4 separate regions of the Homo sapiens genome follow, and all the other regions are linked to region 1. Evidence: promoter capture Hi-C in 16 types of primary human blood cells and fetal thymus (Javierre and others, 2016). All regions are on one chromosome and are shown on one strand. Each heading gives the region's core, a stretch centred on a gene start or on the middle of the fragment in contact. The rest is flanking DNA. Distances are from core to core; before and after follow the strand shown. Region 1 holds the start of AUH (AU RNA binding methylglutaconyl-CoA hydratase). Region 2 overlaps AUH (AU RNA binding methylglutaconyl-CoA hydratase). Region 3 has its middle 13 kb from the start of NFIL3. Region 4 overlaps AUH (AU RNA binding methylglutaconyl-CoA hydratase).

Evidence for each region. Contacts are between HindIII fragments. The CHiCAGO score rates a contact against its expected background, and 5 or more counts as called.
Region 2: a fragment that was not itself captured here is called in contact with the fragment with the promoter of AUH in region 1 in 2 of 17 cell types (activated CD4 T cells and megakaryocytes); the score reaches 5.3 in activated CD4 T cells.
Region 3: a contact is called between a fragment that was not itself captured here and the fragment with the promoter of AUH in region 1, in 1 of 17 cell types (neutrophils). The highest score is 6.2, in neutrophils.
Region 4: a contact is called between a fragment that was not itself captured here and the fragment with the promoter of AUH in region 1, in 1 of 17 cell types (activated CD4 T cells). The highest score is 6.2, in activated CD4 T cells.

The regions. Positions count from the first base shown.
Region 1 is chr9:91,360,569-91,363,334 of GRCh38, reverse strand. AUH (AU RNA binding methylglutaconyl-CoA hydratase) reads left to right here and starts at 1,417. Exons shown (of 10, transcript NM_001698.3): 1 at 1,417-1,707. The coding sequence starts at 1,446. RefSeq lists a silencer at 1,247-1,686. The HindIII fragment of the contact is 2,357 bases long and covers 707-2,766 here.
Region 2 is chr9:91,254,292-91,257,244 of GRCh38, reverse strand. The region is part of intron 6 of AUH (AU RNA binding methylglutaconyl-CoA hydratase); the gene reads left to right. Among named protein-coding and RNA genes, the nearest start is that of LINC02937, 92 kb to the right of the region's middle. The HindIII fragment of the contact is 682 bases long and covers 1,062-1,743 here.
Region 3 is chr9:91,435,247-91,438,069 of GRCh38, reverse strand. It overlaps a transcript of NFIL3 not described here. Among named protein-coding and RNA genes, the nearest start is that of NFIL3, 13 kb to the right of the region's middle. The HindIII fragment of the contact is 6,179 bases long and covers 1-2,823 here.
Region 4 is chr9:91,232,781-91,235,955 of GRCh38, reverse strand. All of the region lies in intron 6 of AUH (AU RNA binding methylglutaconyl-CoA hydratase), which reads left to right. Among named protein-coding and RNA genes, the nearest start is that of LINC02937, 71 kb to the right of the region's middle. The HindIII fragment of the contact is 200 bases long and covers 1,329-1,528 here.

The DNA of each region.
Region 1 (2,766 bases), core at 168-2,667:
CCATCTCTACTAAAAATACAAAAATTACCCAGGTGTGGTGGTGTGTGCCTGTGATCCCAGCTACTCAGGAGGCTGAGGTGGGAGGATCATTTGAGCCTGAGATGCAGAGGTTGCAGCGAGAGGCGATCACACCACTGCACTCCAGCCTGGCCGACAGAGCCAGAACCTGTCAAAAAATAAAAAATAAAAATAAAAATAAAAGTGCCTTCAACATCATTTTACAGCAGATGCAGTAATGGAATTCAGTCTACTTTTTGTTTCTACATTGGATAAAAGTTGAGGACATAATGAAGGATGTTTTGCTTAGGACTAAAAAATACAAGAAATTTCTGTGGCACTAGACGTATGCTCATAGCAGCACACTTTTCAAACAGTATTCTTTTTTTTTTTTTTTTTTTTTTTTGAGACAGAGTTTCACTCTTGTTGCCTGGACTGGAGTGCAATGGTGCAGTCTCAGCTCAGGGCAACCTCCGCCTCCCGGGTTCAAGCAATTCTCCTGTCTCAGCCTCCCGAGTAGCTGGGATTACAGGCGTGTGCCGCCACACCTGGCTAATTTTGTATTTTTAGTAGAGACAGGGTTTCACCACGTTGGCCCGGCTGGTCTCAAACTCCTGACCTCAGGTGATCCACCTGCCTCGGCCTCCCAAAGTGCTTGGATTACAGGCGTGAGCCACCGCCCCCTGCCCAGTATTCTTAAATGCAAGCTTTCCCATTAGAGATCTGATAAAAGCTAGGTAGCATTAATTATACTGCAACGTGCTTTGATGAGTACCTACACACTAAATTGATATCCCGAGTTTCTGGAAGAGCTACATACTCTAAATCCCATCTCAGCGTATGGCTTGTTTGAACCCCTGTAAGACTCTTTCCGTCCAGGAAGGGCCATGGGACATCGGTACGAGTGGGTGGGCTGGAGAAAGAACTCCTTTGCCTGTTTGCTGTTCTCATCCTTTTCCTGAACGCCACGTAGTAAACATCATTTATGCTTATCAGGGACGCTAAACCAACAACCTGAGATCCATAAGTAAGGCAGTGACCAACGATGGGCTGCCACACTTTCAGCCAACTTGAGGAGACAAAACTTTTTTGTTCACTTTTGCAGCTTACTTAACACAGGACCGCAGGGCATGGTCCAGGGAGTACGGGGAGATAATTCCCTCCGGGTGGTTCTTATAGAAAAGTCTTCCCTGAATTATTCCATAACCTTGGAAAACTACTTTCTTTCCTTTTGTATTGGACAAACCATCCAATCTCGCTTGGAGAATGGGGCAAGGCCTCGGGTCACCGGGCTTCGGCGGGGCAGTGAGGGGCGGGAACACGGCTCCGGAGGGCGGGGCCAAGCCGGAGCGAGGCGGCGGGTCCGGACGCCGTGCGCGTGCGCGCGGCAGGTCGGCGCCGGGCGGGGGCGGAGCGGCCGTCGCAGGTCCACGCCGTAAACAGACAACATGGCGGCCGCGGTGGCGGCGGCACCTGGGGCCTTGGGATCCCTGCATGCTGGCGGCGCCCGCCTGGTGGCCGCTTGCAGTGCGTGGCTCTGCCCGGGGTTGAGGCTGCCCGGCTCGTTGGCAGGCCGGCGAGCGGGCCCGGCGATCTGGGCCCAGGGCTGGGTACCTGCGGCCGGGGGTCCCGCCCCGAAAAGGGGCTACAGCTCTGAGATGAAGACGGAGGACGAGCTGCGGGTGCGGCACCTGGAGGAGGAGAACCGAGGTGAGGTGCGAACGCTGGGCAGGCGCGGGGCAGCGGGCGGCCGCTCGCTCTCAGGACGGGCATAAGGTGCAGCGTCCGCCGGCAGGACGCGGGGTCGAGGTCAGGCAGGCGCACCGAACCTGGGTCCCTCCCCTTTCTCACCTCCCTACTCACCCAGCGTGGCCGCTTCCTTGTGCACCTATTTCTTGCTTTTAATAACCTAAACGTGTACCCCCGAGCAGCTTACCTGTAAAGTGACCGCATTCAGCGCGGCAAACAGAAGTGCAGCTTACGCCCTCCGCTCCAGACAAGCCAAGGTCAATATATACCCTGGGGATTTAATCCTTGCTACCAGGCTTTATTGTTGCTGTGTAATGGCTTTCTGTAAACTCAGCTATTAGTGGTGGAGTTGTAAAAGCTGCGGTGAAACTGCCTTTTATTATTACGGAGAATCTTAAATTTGAAGCTGCTCAGCTGGAACAATTTTTCCTCTTGTTCATTTTCTCTTAGAAAGTTAGTCTTGAGGGACTGTTCCACTTCATTTAAACAATTTTGAGCACTTTTTATTTTCCTCAGCTCTGGCGATAAGAATGTGGATGGTATGGATCTTGCCCTTGAGCTACCTTCTACGGGAGGAGACATCATTAGCAATACAATACAGAGCTTTGAAGGCTTTGAAGGAGGCTGACAATCCTAGGGAATACTGTTACAGCTCAGTTCCTTTCACTGGCAGTGCAGGGAAAAGCTAAAAGGGTCGTGAAGGGTGGAATAGCAGTTTCCACCCTTAACCTCCGGGTTAAGCCAGAGGACCAGTGTTTTAATTTTGACATGCATTTGTTGAGCACCTATAATCTGTTAAGCAGAAGTGAAAAGCGTGTAAGTCGTGATTGGTTTTAGTGTAGTGAAGCAGATCCTGGTTATTAGTAGGCTGTGTGAACTTTCAAGGCATGGTAAGAGGAAAGGGCTGTAATACCTGCAGGGTTTCGCCATTTGAAAGGGGTTCCAAGGCATTCTTTAATAGGCAGTGGATTTTGCCATTTGTGAGGGTTCTTGGGCAGACTTATCTCACGTGTAAAACAG
Region 2 (2,953 bases), core at 153-2,652, 110 kb after region 1:
GCTGTTTCCAAATAATGGCTGGATCTTTCTTCCTTTTAGTAATAATACTGCTACCCTGGTTCAGATCCAGCTAGATCAACGTAACCATTTTAGCTCTACATAACCATTTTAGCCTCCCATATAGCTTGGAGATGGCCTTATGGCAAAGTTTCTGCCCACATAGATGGCTGCAATGTGAACTGGAGAACATTCTCATCAACCTCAGAGACAAGAGCAACACCCAGCGGGTGGCAGAACAACACGAGAGATAACCCAAGAATACCTACAAGTTTGGGATATTTTAAAAGGAGAGAGAAGCTTTGATGTTTTTTAAGCCTATGTTATTTTTGTCCGCTGAATAATCGTAACTCATGTCTTTGCCTCATAGGCTGTCTCTCTGTGTAAGGGTCTGGCAAGGTAGCTGCAGCCCAGGTACCTTCCATGATGTTGAGGAGAGACTCTCCTATCCTCACCACACCAGAGAGTAGGTATGCAGGTTGCCACCAGTGTTCTCCTCCCTACCCACTCCCTCACTTTTCTTTTCATTGGTTCAGTAGAAGGAGGGGCTGTGCAGTAAGTCTGCCGCTTGAGCACAGGGACAGCTGTCACTGCAGTGCTGGTCTCCTGTTCTTGGAGGCACCTCAGTCTCCTTGACCTCTTAGACACCCTCCTACCCCCAAGGTGGGGAAGGAGCAAGCAGAGGCAAAATCCCAGCCCTCCTTGTTAAGACTACAGTGACTTTCCTCCTCTCCCTTCTCCGTGTCCGTAATGCATAGCTGGAAGGAAGTGTCTGGGTGGTGATGCCAGTAGCTGTGCTGGTGCCATGCCAGGTGCTCTTCATGAGCACCAAAGGAGGGCAGGCTCAGGTTTGTTGCTGTCTTTAGAATCTGGGGTTCTCGATAGTCTTTGCCCTCAGGTTGGATCTCAGTCTCCAGATTGTGGGTAGCAGGTCAGTCCCACTTCCTGTCTCATTACAAGATGTCATATTTCAGAATAATCTTGTTAATGGTTTTATTAACAAATGTTATTTTAGGACAGATTTCATGAAGTGTTATTTTATGCCACTAAATAAATCATAAGCTTAATTGCTACAGTCTGGGTAGAAGCATATTTGTTTTACAGTATAAGCCTCACTAACTGATTTAATGGAGTAGCCAAAAGCAATTTCAAGTACTTCCATATATTACAAATGATCAATCTTTGTTGTTTCTAAGATAAGATATAACTGAAATAAAATGTTTACATGACATTATTTAAATTTAATTATATTTAATTCCTATAAAATGGAAGATAAAATGCCAGAACTTAGAGCTTATGTATTTTTAAAATAGAGCTGCGTAACTTATAGAGCCTCAATTCATGAGCAACTAGCTTGCTTTTTGAAAATGAAAAAGAGAAAAAAGATGACAGTTTCCAAGTTAATTCACATTATACTTTTGATTATAAATAATAAATGTCATTTCTAAATGATCACTTTGCTGTGTACCAAGTTAGCACTTGATAGTTGAAAATAAAAATTATTTTATGACTACTAACTTGTAAGGAGGCAGTATAAATAGCTTTTATATGAAAAAATAGATATATATGCCCAGGCATATTTAATCACTAAAAATTGCTTATCAGGACAGTCATGGAAATATCCTTCTGTAACAGTTTCTCTCAGATCTATTTCAGACTTATGCATCTGTTACTATATTTATCTTTATCTTAATCAGCCCTTGCTGTGAGGTTTGGTTATTTTATTACAAGCAGCTGGGCAAAGCTTTTTCTTTTAAAAACTACATTCTTTTGTAGTGCTGCCATCACTCACATTACACACTTGGACAGCAAAAGCACGTAAACAGTAGAACTAGATGAAATACTTGATGTCACTATATTTCATGATACTGTAACAGAAACCACTCCTTCGGGACGATATAACATGAAAGCATTACAATTTTTAAAAATCTTAACAAAAGATACAGTCAGTGTATGGATGATCGCTCTTAGAGTTTTTGAACATGAAACTTCTTTTCTTATGCTGGGTTTAACTGTGACTATATTTACTCATCTGAGGGTTAATATCATGCCAACATTTAACTAGTTTGCTCTGATACTAATATATACATACTAGTGTTTAGTGACTTTATAAGATTATTAGAAGTCTACAATTCCAAACCTCTGGCCGAGATGAGAACTTTTTAAATATATAAACCCTTTTATAAATCTAACCTTACACTTTATTCCAACTTTGGTATGACAGTTTGAAATGTTTTCAATTCCAGGCTATAAATTCCAGATTCAGTTTTCCTTTGAGTTTATGCTGTATACCAGGTCCTGGGGTAGGAATTATTCCATTGTCTCTTAGTTTTATGTCAAGTCTAAAAGGTAGGTTACTCCCATATCAAAAATATGGAAACTGAGTCTTAGAACCTTTTCCAAGGTCACATAGGTAATTAAGGATATATTGATTGTCCCATTCTGCCATTTAGGATTTTTGTTAGTTAAGAGATGTGCTGTGATATTAGGAAAATGATGTTCAGTGTAAACATATTGTTGCATTGATGTCATACGAATGGTTGCCAATATAGGCAGTTCTTGACATGTTTTATTAACTGAAGAGATATGGACAGCTTGCTATTTTAGATTACCCATCTCTTATGTTTAGAATTCGTTTTTGTTTCTACTATCACACTTTTAATTTAGTCTTCTGTTACCTGCCCTCAGAGCTAATCCAGCATCTTACAGTTAAACTCTGGAATTCTATCCTCCATACATTTATATCCATGATTGCTAAATGAACTTTACATCAAAACCAGTGGTTCACATTGCTTACTAAAGAAAGCATAAGCTCATCCTGGCATTGAACACTTTATTTTCATTGCTCAGTTTTGCCCTTCCCATCCTGTCTGCACCCCGTCTCAGCCATTTGAGGCCCCTGCTGTTGTTGGGAGAGGCCTTCTTGTTCCCAGTGCCCCTGCTCAGGGAAGACTTT
Region 3 (2,823 bases), core at 308-2,807, 75 kb before region 1:
AAAATTAAAAATAGGACTACCATGTGGCCCAGCAACCCCCTTTCTGGGCATATACCCAAAGGAAATAAAGTCACCATTTCATAAAGGTATGTGCACGCCCGTGTTTACTGCAGCACTACCCACAATAGCCAAGATATGGAAACAACCTGTGTGTCTGTAGAGATACAAATAGTTAAGAAACTGTGCTACATACATATAGATAAAGACATATTATTTTGCCTTTAAAAAAGGAGATCCTGCCATTTGTCACAACATGCAGAAACCTGGAAGTTTGTGCTAAGTGAAATAAGCTAGACACACACACAAAAATACATGATCTCATTTACATGTGGAATTTTTTAAAGAGTCATATATACAGAGATAGGGAATAAGACACTGCTTACCAGGGGTGGGGCTAGGGAGGTAGAAAGGAAATGGGGAGATGTAGGTCAGAGGACACAAAGTAACAGACATGTAGGATGAACAAGTCTAGAGATCAAATGTACGTGAAGATTACAGATAATAAAATTGTACTGTATTTGTGATTCCTGCTAAATGAGTAGACTTTAGCTATTCTTGCCACAAAAACTAACAAAAGTGTAACTGTGTGAGATGACGAATATGTTAATCTGCTTCTTTATAGTGACCATTTTACTATCTACATGTATCCCACAATATATTTACATCTTAAGTATAAATGATTAAATTTATTTTCTTAAAAATGGTCAACAGGCAAATTTTGTTATATATGTATTCCTGATCCAAAAAATATAACATGTAATACATCAAATACCATTGAATCGTGCACTTTACATGGGTAAATTGTATGGATGTGAATTATAACTCAATAAAGCTGTTTTAAAAAAGAGATTTAGGACAGTGTTCTTTAATCCCCAGGCCACAGACCGGTACTGATCCCTGGCCTGTTAGGAACTGGCCCGCACAGCAGGAGATGAGCGGTGGGCGAGCAAGCATTACTGCCTGAGCTCAGCCTCCTGTCAGAGCAGCGGAAGCATTAGATTCTCATAGGAGTGTGAACTCTACTGGGAACTGCGCATGCGAGGGATCTAGGTTGCGCACTCCTTATGAGAATGTAACTCCTGATGATTCGACACGGAACAGTTTTATCCTGAAACCATCCCCCAAAACCCTTGCACGTGGAAAAATTGTCTTCCACGAAACCGGTCCCTGCTGCCAAAAAAGGTTGGGGACTGCTGATTTAGGGGATAGTGTCAGTAGGAAATTGTAACTGACTATATATGAAGGATGTAGTGAACATTTGTCACTTTATGGCTACTTGGCAGAGGAACCTCTTCCTATTTTGGGTTATAGAGCCTGTCTCCAATCAGAGAAGTTGAAGATCTTCTATTAATTTTCCCAGACTCTTGGTAGCCAGGGTCCTGGCATATGACGTAGGTCCTGCCAATCAGACATACTTAACTCCTCCTTAGCTCCCCACCTTCAACTCTTTGTTGTTGTTGTTGTTGTTGTTGTTGTTGTTGTTGTTGTTGTTGAGGCAGAGTCTTGCTCTGTCGCCCAGGCTGGAGTGCAGTGGCGCCATCTCGACTCACTGCAAGCTCCGCCACCCGGATTCACGCCATTCTCCTGCCTCAGCCTCCGGAGTAGCTGAAACTAAAGGTGCCCGCCACCACGCCCGGCTAATTTTTTGTATTTTTAGTAGAGACGAGGTTTCACCGTGTTAGCCGGGATGGTCTCTATCACCTGACCTCGCGATCCGCCCGCCTTCGGCCTCCCAAAGTGCTGGGATTACAGGCGTGAGCCACCGCGCCCGGCCCCACCTTCAAATCTTAATCAGAAAATGGTAATGTGAAGAAATGGAGATCATGCAGGCTCTTTCCCTGGGGCAGTGCCTGTGAAGGTGGCTGTATCCTGTTTGCAGGAGCTTTCTTTCTGGTAGCAGCATTGGAGGAGTGTGCCATGCAGATGCAGTTTCTCTGTCCTACAGCAGAGACAGCAGTGCCTGCGGGAGATCAATTCTGCAGTTTGATTTGGGGCATAGCTTCCGGCTTTTTAGCCTTCAAACCTGACTTGCCACAGATTCTGTGAGTTGCCTGGAGTTTTTTGGGTTTTTTTGTTTAGTAAATTACTGTTCTGCTCATATTAGCCAAAATCGGTCTGTGTTGCTTGCAACAAAGTACCCTGAATGCTGTAAAAAATTGCTCCCAGATTCTCAGCAAGTTGAGTGAACTATGGGATGTACAAGATGTAACTGAAGGAAGTAAAAATCCAGCTAGTATTAAAGGGAAGAGTTCTGATAGTACCTGGCATGCATAGATGAAATGTTAATTAGATTATAAGCTGTAGGCACATGGAATAAACTGTTCACTGAAAGTCTCAGTAAGGGACCCTGGTTGACCACTGTCACAGAATAGAATGGTAGTCATGAAGACCATGTGGCAAAATCATAGTCCTCACTTCACCAAGGCAGACCTTTCTTCCTACACTCCTCAGTTTCAGGCGCAGGCAGATGTCTCTAAAACTGATTCAGTGCCAAACGGAGCCATCATCCAGCCTCTAGAGGCAGGTGGACTCGGTCAGGCTTCATGAGGACCATGATGAAATGGCACTCAAGTTCCATTTCAACCTCCTTTGAGTGGCCTTTTATGTACCATAGAATTTGAATTCCACATTTACTAGTCTCTCTTGCAACTGGTATTCTGGATGCAAATTAAGATAAAATTTGATGGTGAAAGAGAGGTGAGGCACACTTCCTGTTGAGTTAGCAATTGCTGCAGGCAGGCAAGGTCATAGAGATGTTGGAGTTTTCTGACCAGCAGCTCCAGGGGCCTGATGATTGTATTATTGTATAAGTCAGTTGCAGCA
Region 4 (3,175 bases), core at 179-2,678, 130 kb after region 1:
AGGTCAGCAGCCTAGTGCTGTCTTTCTGCTGTGCCATCTTCAGTTTGGAGACTTTGCCCTTGCCACCTTCCATCATGGTCACAAGGTGGCTGCCATAGCTCTAAGTATCACATTTAGAGGTGACAGCATCCTGGAAGAAGACCTGTGTATTCCTGAATGTCTTTATTTCAGTGAAGAATATCTTTCCTAGAAGACCCCTGCAGACATAGCTTTATTGAAGGAAGGGTAGGGTGAATAGTGGTAGAACAGGAACAGGTGACTTATAAAATGTGGTTGGCTGCACCTGAGCAGCTGAACAGCCTCAGTGAGCACCTGTCCAGGTCTTGCTGACATTTGTCTAAACAGTCTCCCTAAGTGATCTTATTCAGGACCTTGGTTTTGAATGCTACCTGTATGATACTAATCATTGGTAAACCTTATTCTCTGTGTCCAGTCTCACACATGACTGCTCCACTCTTATGTGTAAAAGATACATTATACTTACCTTGGCCAGAGCACAGCTTCCCCCTCCTCCATTCTTGTCAGTGTTCATAATATCGGACACTCACACACTCAGGCTAAAAATCTAGCCATTAGATTGATTTTCCTTTCTCCCAGCATCCATTTAACTAGCATTTCAGACAACACTTATTCCAAGTCCTCCACATCTCTCTCCCTACCTTGCGCTGTCTCGGTCCAAGCTGCCATCCTGTTGTACTTGGGTGACAGCAGTAGCTGCCTACTGGGCACCCTGTTCTGATTTTGCCCCTATCATCTCTTCTCCCCCAATCTTACAAATGATCTTTTTAAAGTGCAGATCAAATTATGTCACTTGCTGCTCAAAATCCTCCAGTGCCTTTGTGTCACTTTGCCTAGGGTAAAATGTAAACTTCTACTCCGCTTACCCAAGCTCCTGTCCTGCTCCTCCTCACATCCTTTCCTATGAGCCACAGTGGTCTCCTTCAATGGGCCATACTCTGCCTCATCTTTACATCTTTGTACCAGCTGAGCTCATCACTGGGTGTTCTTCCTGATCTTCATTTGGATGTCTGGTTATATTTCAGACATTGGCCTCACCTTTATCAAGCAGGCCTTCTCCAACCACCCAATCTAAATTAGTCATCTAGTGTGCTGTCTCAGAACTCTCTTCCCTGCCTGAAATTCTCTGTGTAACACTCCTCACAGTCTCTTCTCTCTGGCCCATTGCTTCTTGCCATTTGTCTTTGCTCTCCTTCTGCAGAATGGTAAGGAATGGTCTATCTTACTCAGCACTGTGGGTTCAGCACCTAGGACAGTGCCTGGCACTTGTTAGGTTAATCAATAAATTATTTATTGAACTTAAATAAGCTTTATTTGGAAAAAGTAAAACGGATAAACTCCCATTCAGTTTCATCTGACTTTTTTAAAGAGAAAGAAAACTAATAGCTCTATTATTGTATGATTCGTCTTTTTGGAGAGTAAGCAATAGAAATTGACTCTGGCTACCCTAAATGAAAAGGAAATTTATTGTAAGTCTCCTGAAATCAATAGATGGATAGAGATTGAAGCTTAGAGCACAAACTGGAACCCAGGAGCCCCAGAACTAGACAGTCTATACCATGGCAGGTCTGCACGTCACTGCCCTGTGCTCTTTGTGAGCTTGGCAAATCTCCATGCCATGAGGTTGCCCATTCAGACTGTCAGTCCTGGAAGCAGCATCCAGCAGGCCAGACCTGATGTAGACGCCTGTCCAGCTGTGTCAGGGCAGAGGAGGCAGCTCTGGCTCTTGGGCTTCAGTTGCAGGGATCCTCTACTGTCCAAGGCTGATACAGTGGAGAGAGGGGTGGCCAAAGGGGTCTCCAAAAGCAAGACCGGGATTTTAATGGGGGCAGTGGATGTTGAGCAGCCAAAACATGGCCAACATTCAAATCATTTGGGGAACTTGTTTAGAAGTCTCTCTCTGAGCTTGTTGGAGCTCCACCACAAATAGTACAAACATCTGCCTACCCCCGTCTTCTTAGTTCATGACCATAATTCTCCCTCAAATCTCTGAGGAATCAAAATGGAATCACTGGTGTTAAAAATAACCCTGACAAATAGAATTGAGAAGCCCATGAAAAGAGGGTTCTTATGCTTGTATGCCTGATAACTAAAACCATCACAAAACACTCTGCAAAAACCACAACCTTACATGAAGGCCATTGTAACCTTATACAGAAGACACTTCTGCAAGGATGTCTGTTCAACTGCCTGTCCAGCCTCAGGCTGGCGTTACTTGTTATTGATCTTTGTAGCCAAGGATAATTATTTTGAAACAGTTACGTAATCTTCATTTTTTCCTCTAAAAACCTTTGTCTTCCTTTATCTCCCTGAATATACACATTGTTTATGGCATACGCATTCCTGTTGCAATGCTTTATTCCCAGATTCCTTTTAGAGGCCCTCTCCCTGTTTTTTATTTAGGTTGACAAGCTCAAATCTTCATTAGAGAATGACAGTCCCATACCACTGTTTCTCAGAAGATGCTCTCAGATGTTCAGTGGCTTCTTGTCCCCCTCAGAGTAAACCCCAGGTCCTTTTGGGCCCATGGGACCCACAGGATCTGCCCCTGCTGTGCACTTCAGCCACACTGGACCTCCTTGTGCTCCACAAGTGAATCAGTTGCAATTCCCACAAAACCTGTGCCCTTCGTGTTCCTCCTGGAGATGCATTCCCCAGACCTGTGTGGGAATCCTTGCTACCTCCTGCCTCAGCTCCAGTGTCACCTGCTCAGAGCCCTTCCCTGGCCATCCTGTCTTAACTGTGCCCATCCCCACTCCATCTCCCCCCGCTTTCTTACTCTCTGTGTGTATTTCTTTCTTTATTGCGAGGCTTCCCATGACAGTGTTGAACGCCAGGGGCCAGGGGCTTTGTTTTGTTCATGGATGTATCCATGTACCAAAACAGGGTCCCTCCATAGTGATGCTTCAATGAGTGAAAAAATGGGTTGTCATCTGTGAAATTAGTTTTAAAGGAGGAATTCCAAAATGGTCCTAAACAACAAGTAGACAGCATGTGAGGTGATGATTGCAATTACTTACTTGGTTATGTAAATTCTGTTGCTTTAATTTAAGAGAATTATCTCTCCACCTCCTGTTTTAGAGCAGTGGGTTAGTAGATTCTGCTGCCTCTTCAGCTGAATGTTGGAGCCTATTAGAAATGCAGAACCTTAGGTTCA